Linked DNA regions of Homo sapiens: region 2 is linked to region 1. The links are contacts of gene promoters, found by promoter capture Hi-C in human tissues and cell types (Jung and others, 2019). All regions are on one chromosome and are shown on one strand. The core of a region is centred on a gene start or on the middle of the fragment in contact, and the rest is flanking DNA. Distances in the headings are between cores, read along the strand shown.

Region 1 (2,679 bases), core at 66-2,565:
TCAATTTTTTCTTCTGTTCTCTTTCTTCCTCTATATTCCACATATGACTTCCAAAGGTTTTGTAAAGATGAATTGTCCAGGATTAAGAGAGTGATTGATTAAGAGCCTACAGAACTGGGAAGAGGAGAGCTGCCAAGCTTTTCTTTATGTGTAGCACAGTGGAGCTACCCAGAGTGTGAGAAGCAAGAAACAGAGAGCCTTGCTAAGGCACGACGAAAAGGGGAAGCCTATTAAAAGAATGATCTGGAGGAGTGTGCAGTGAAGAAAATAAAGTAGAGCCAGCCTGCTGGGTCAGTAGCTAATAGCCCATGGGTTTACAACTAAGGAAGTTAAAATTCTAGCTAATGAGAATTGTAGACACCTACTGAGAGTGAACCGAAGGCTTCCTATTAACTTCCCTTCTTGGGTCTTTTTGACAGAACAGTCAGAAAGTTGTTTCCTATTTGTTTAGTAGCAAAAGAGTTGAAATGGAGGTTTAAAAAATGATGAAAGAGAAGTTGGAGGCAATCTCTTACTCAGCTCCTTCACGAGGTCCAAATACGATGTCTCCCCCACTCCACTCAAAATGTAAATCAGCATAGGTCACAAAAAGAGGAAGGACAGTTAAAAAAAAAAAAAAGAGTTGGGCCAAATAAGACATACAGCCAAGATGACTGAGACAATCAGAGAGGATTTGGGGTGTGGGGACTTCAAATTAATAAATCCGGTATTAGCTTTGTGGAATTAGCAGGATTAGGGTACCTCTTTCAAGAACACTGGTTGAATTTCATGGTTTCAATAGATGACCATTAGCTGTTATGTGCACCCCCCCCCCCCTTTTTTCTTGCAGAAGTTAAGAAGTCTGCTTAACTCGCAGGTCACCAAGAGATTGATTAAAGGCCTCTGGACATCATTTGGGTTTGGATAAATCTGTAGGGCCACTTTACAGACTGTCTCCAACTCCTGATCCCACTGTGGTTCTTTCTGAATTGATCCAGGTCCCTGCTAGCAAGTGAAGCAGAAAGAATCCAGGCTAGTTGTGAGATGACATACAGCAAGCAGGCTGAGATGATGGGGACATTTCAGAACCAAGAGGAGGGGGCGGGCAGGACACGGACTTGTCTCCCCCACCTTGATGCCAAGGTGGCATCTGGGAGATATCTCGAAGGGCAACGTCGAGGGGACTGCAAGCGTCAACCCTGGCGCGGCAGCACGGCGCCCCTCTCCGCGGGCGGGGAGCGAGCGCGTGTGCGCGAGAGCGCCGGGCGGCGGCGGGAGGAGGCGCAGGCGCGCTGCTCGCCCGTCTGCAGCCCCGAGCCGAGCGCCGCGTCTCGGGAGTTGATGGCAGCACCACTGTGCGGCCGCCCGGCCGAGCGCGGAGCGCAGCCACTCGCCGCTGCCCAGGGAGCGCCCAAGATGTGGGGGGACCGGGGCGGCAGCGGCCGTAGCAGCGCCAGGGACGGGGGCACGCAGCAGCCTCCGCTCGCCCGCCTGTCCTGACCTGCCTCGCTTGCCCCCAAAGAATGTCAGCCAAGTCCAAGGGGAACCCCTCCTCGTCCTGTCCAGCCGAGGGACCGCCGGCAGCCTCCAAAACCAAGGTGAAGGAACAGATCAAGATCATCGTGGAGGATTTGGAATTAGTCCTGGGCGACCTGAAGGACGTGGCCAAGGAACTTAAGGAGGTGAGAGGCGCAGGGGTGGGGAGGGAGTTCGGCACCCTTCGACCCCTCCGGGGTCCCCTTTCCGATTTTCAGCAGGGACAGCCAGATTTCCAAACTCCTGGGAAACTACAGAAAAGGCGCCTGCAGACGGACTTTCTTTGCTCCTGGAGTCCTGAGAGGAGTTGTTGTTGCACTTTTTAATTTTTTTTTTTAATCAGGAAGAAATCAACTAGTGTTTTAATCGATGGACCTGGGCTGGTGGGAGGGATGAACGCACGCGTGTCTCTGAATCTGTGTGTGTGACGACGGGGGAGAGGGTTAGCTGGGGGTGTGTCGGCAGAGGAAGTCGTGAGCAGCCCGGCTGGAGCGTGCAAGATGCTCCTCTCCTGCCCTATTGCTTCCCCAGAGTCCTTTGGCAAGTCCGCTGCCTATCTGTCAGCCTCCCCAAGTCAGGGCTGAAGAGGGGCCGGGTTCTGGGCCCTGGGCCAGATCAGGGAGGGCAGCCTGGAGGAAGCTTGGCTCAGACTACCCTCCCTGTCTCTCGAGCCTCGCTGTAGGGAAGGCGACCCGGGCTGCTGGCAGCCTTGGGGCTAAGGAGGGGGTCTGGGACTTTCTCACTTTCTCAGTTTCTGAAGCATCCCCTGCTCTCCTCCGAACGTCGTTACCAGTAACTCTGGGCCTTCCCGCCACCCTACCTCTGCTTCCTTCCTTCCACCCTGTCGCCACTTGGCATTGAACCCGAGAAGCAGGACGCGCAGGAGAGTGTATGTGTGGCCGGGGTCTTGCCATTGGCGTCCTGGCTCTCTGCAGCTGGGACTGCTTCGGTTCTTCCCCGCTTTTCCTATCCCACTTCGGTTCAGCCCTACTCCCGCCCGCCCCTAGCCCCAGGTGATCCAGATGGAAAGAAGCAGAGAAGGTGTCAGGGCTGAGGCTGCGTAACTCAGGCGGCGGCTCCGGGCGGGGGCGGGGGCCGGGCTGGGAGGGGTGGGGTCTCCCGAGCCAGGCTGGCTGCCGGCGGCGTCGCGGAGCTGGTAGCAGA
Region 2 (2,679 bases), core at 53-2,552, 930 kb before region 1:
AGTATATATCTTAATAAGATCCTCAGGGGTCTCCAAGTTTTCAAATGCCATATTCTCATCTGTTACCTCACCCCTCCCTCATTAAATGCTGTGAAGTATGACTGAAATTGTTATGGACTCTTTCAGAAGCTTAGTTATTAATAAATACAGAGCTAAAAATCAACAGTAAGATGCCTGTAATGAATTCTGCCACTAAGAGAAAATGAATACAATCTCTTTCTTCACTTCTGAAATAAGATTAGCTGTGATCTTATAGGTGTCTATAAACTCAAGGTGATGGTGGTGGTTGCAGACCATGACCTGAGCCACTACAGAACTGGAAGTTCCACTTCTTTACCTCAAATTTCTGTATTCTTGTATTTCTATATTTTGCTTTTTTTCTAAATGACAGATAATGTATAATTGATAGATAGAATATGTGTAGAATAAGTGCCACATTAACATGGAAACTATAGAAATGTCTGCATTTTACTTGGTTTATTTTACCCTCATTTTGTTGGAGAGAAAAAGATACACATTGGTTTCTTCCTATTTTTCCCAGCTATTGACCTGAAAAGTGGTTCTGGAAAAGTGTACCAAGGCCCTGCAAAAGGTGCTGCTGATACAACAATCATACTTTCAGATGAAGATTTCATGGAGGTGGTCCTGGGCAAGCTTGACCCTCAGAAGGTAATGTTCTCAAATGTTCATTTATTCATTGTTTTATTGTTTCCTCTTTTGACAATTGCAGTTTTTAAGCTGATGCCCAAATTCTGATTTATAAGCCAGGTTTCTTACAACTCTGAAGATGACACAGTTGCTACTGATACTCTGGTTGACAGGTCATATATTTCTTTTTTAATGGAGTTTCACCTGACACTTTTTAAGACTGAACCCACATCTAGATTTTTTAATATATTCTGTTATGTGTTCAAAGGTGAAAAACCATATGACATTAGTAGGTACTACATAAAATTAGACATTCCCAATAAATAAGATTAAGAAATCATTGAATATTGGAACTAGAAGGATATTTTAACCTAATAGCCCATGTCTTACTTAGGGTGAATCTTAGAGGCATTTCAGTGGAAAATCATGATTAACAGAAGAGTGCCTTCTGTGACGATTATTTAGTTAATATTATTATGAAACTTTTGACCAATCCACAAATATACAAAATTAAAGTAATTGATGTGGCAATTAGAATGGAGGAGAAAAATTTGTTATTTTCAATTTGTGATTATGTAGCTAGAAATTCCAAGGGAACTAACTTATTGATTCTTAGAATGAAGGAGTTCAAACAAATGGCTGAGTGCAGTTATTTAAAAATAGCTTTCACATAGGAGTAATTTGAATAAATGAGGAAATATATGATTTTCCTGTATAGAAAGACTAAAAGGAATTGTAAAGTAGTATAGTAGGTAAAAAGTAGTCTTTGGCATCAGATAAAATCTAAATTTGAATCTTGCCCCTGTCACTTCATCCAAAAACCTTAATTTTCTCATTTGTAAAATGAGTTTAATAATTTTAATGTTTACAAGGCTTATTATAAGAACTAAACCCAATAATATGTATGAAGAGCTTAGTACAGTGCTTGGCAATGCAGTGAACCCTCTGTTAATTTCTTTCCAGGAATTTATTTAGTACCTATTCAGGTTGTAGGTATTGGCTGAATTAAGACAAAACCCTACTGTATGGAGCTTCTTTTAGTGTACTAATGCAAAAGAAATAAAATCTCAAGTTAGAGAAGAGTAAGCCTGAGTATAGTGTTAGAGCAATGACTGGCAAACTTTTTCTGTAAAGGGTTACACAGTAAATATTTTAGGCTTTGTGGGCAAGATGGTCTCTGTTGCAGCTCTTCAGCTTTGCCATTGTAGCCTTAAAGTAGCCATAGAGAATATGTAAACAATGGAGTGTGACTGTGTTCCAATAAAACTTTATTTACAGAAACACACAGCCACTAGATCTGGTTCTCCAGCTGTTGTTTGCCAACCCTTGAGTTAGAATGTGACAGGACAGGGGAACTATTTTAAATAGGTTGTTTAAAATACCTTCTGGGGTTTTCTAAGGTACCTGAAATGCCTGACAGAGATTTGAACAGAGTATCAGAATGAGTCATCAGACTAAGGAAACAACTAATACAAAGGCCTGCCGTGCGAGGAACTTGGCTCCACTTAGTCTTCTCTGAGCTCCACAGTGAGAGAACCATCCCTCTACTTGACCACTCTGATGGGAAACTTTCTGGCATGTCAAACTTACTGTGACCAAAATAGAACTTGTGATTTATTTTTCTCCCCCAGTCTCTTCCTTCTTAATTAGTGGCACCATCATCTATTTACCCAAATTAATAAGCCCAGAAATGTAAAAATTATCTTAGATTCCTTCTGCCCTTCTGTATCCTTTCCTTCCTTACTTCTGTCTGATCTTTCTCCAAAATATATCTTGAATTCATCTTCTCTTCCTCTCTAGGGATATCACTGTGATCCTAGCCTCTGTCATCTCTCACCTGTCTTACTTCTTCCAGTCTTGTCTCTCCCATTCAGTCTGTTGTTCTCCACCCAGGAGCCAGAGTAATCCTTTAAAAATGTAAATCAGATTAGATTATTTATGTATGTTAGTCATTTCTACTACTTTCATTAATTACTGGTTCATATTTATCATCCCATTTGATAAAAAATCTCCAGCATTTCCTTTTGCACG

The links. Contacts are between HindIII fragments. The study calls those that stand out against the background at their distance.
Region 2: a contact is called between a fragment that was not itself captured here and the fragment with the promoter of PRR16 in region 1, in 1 of the 25 tissues and cell types used here (dorsolateral prefrontal cortex).

Annotation. Positions count from the first base shown.
Region 1 is chr5:120,462,985-120,465,663 of GRCh38, forward strand. PRR16 (proline rich 16) reads left to right here and starts at 1,316. Exons shown (of 2, transcript NM_001300783.2): 1 at 1,316-1,661. The coding sequence starts at 1,503. RefSeq lists a silencer at 1,235-1,284 and an enhancer at 1,690-2,191. The HindIII fragment of the contact is 4,324 bases long and covers 1-2,679 here.
Region 2 is chr5:119,535,882-119,538,560 of GRCh38, forward strand. HSD17B4 (hydroxysteroid 17-beta dehydrogenase 4) reads left to right here. Exons shown (of 24, transcript NM_000414.4): 23 at 542-669. Among named protein-coding and RNA genes, the nearest start is that of HSD17B4, 85 kb to the left of the region's middle. RefSeq lists an enhancer at 2,246-2,325. The HindIII fragment of the contact is 7,083 bases long and covers 1-2,679 here.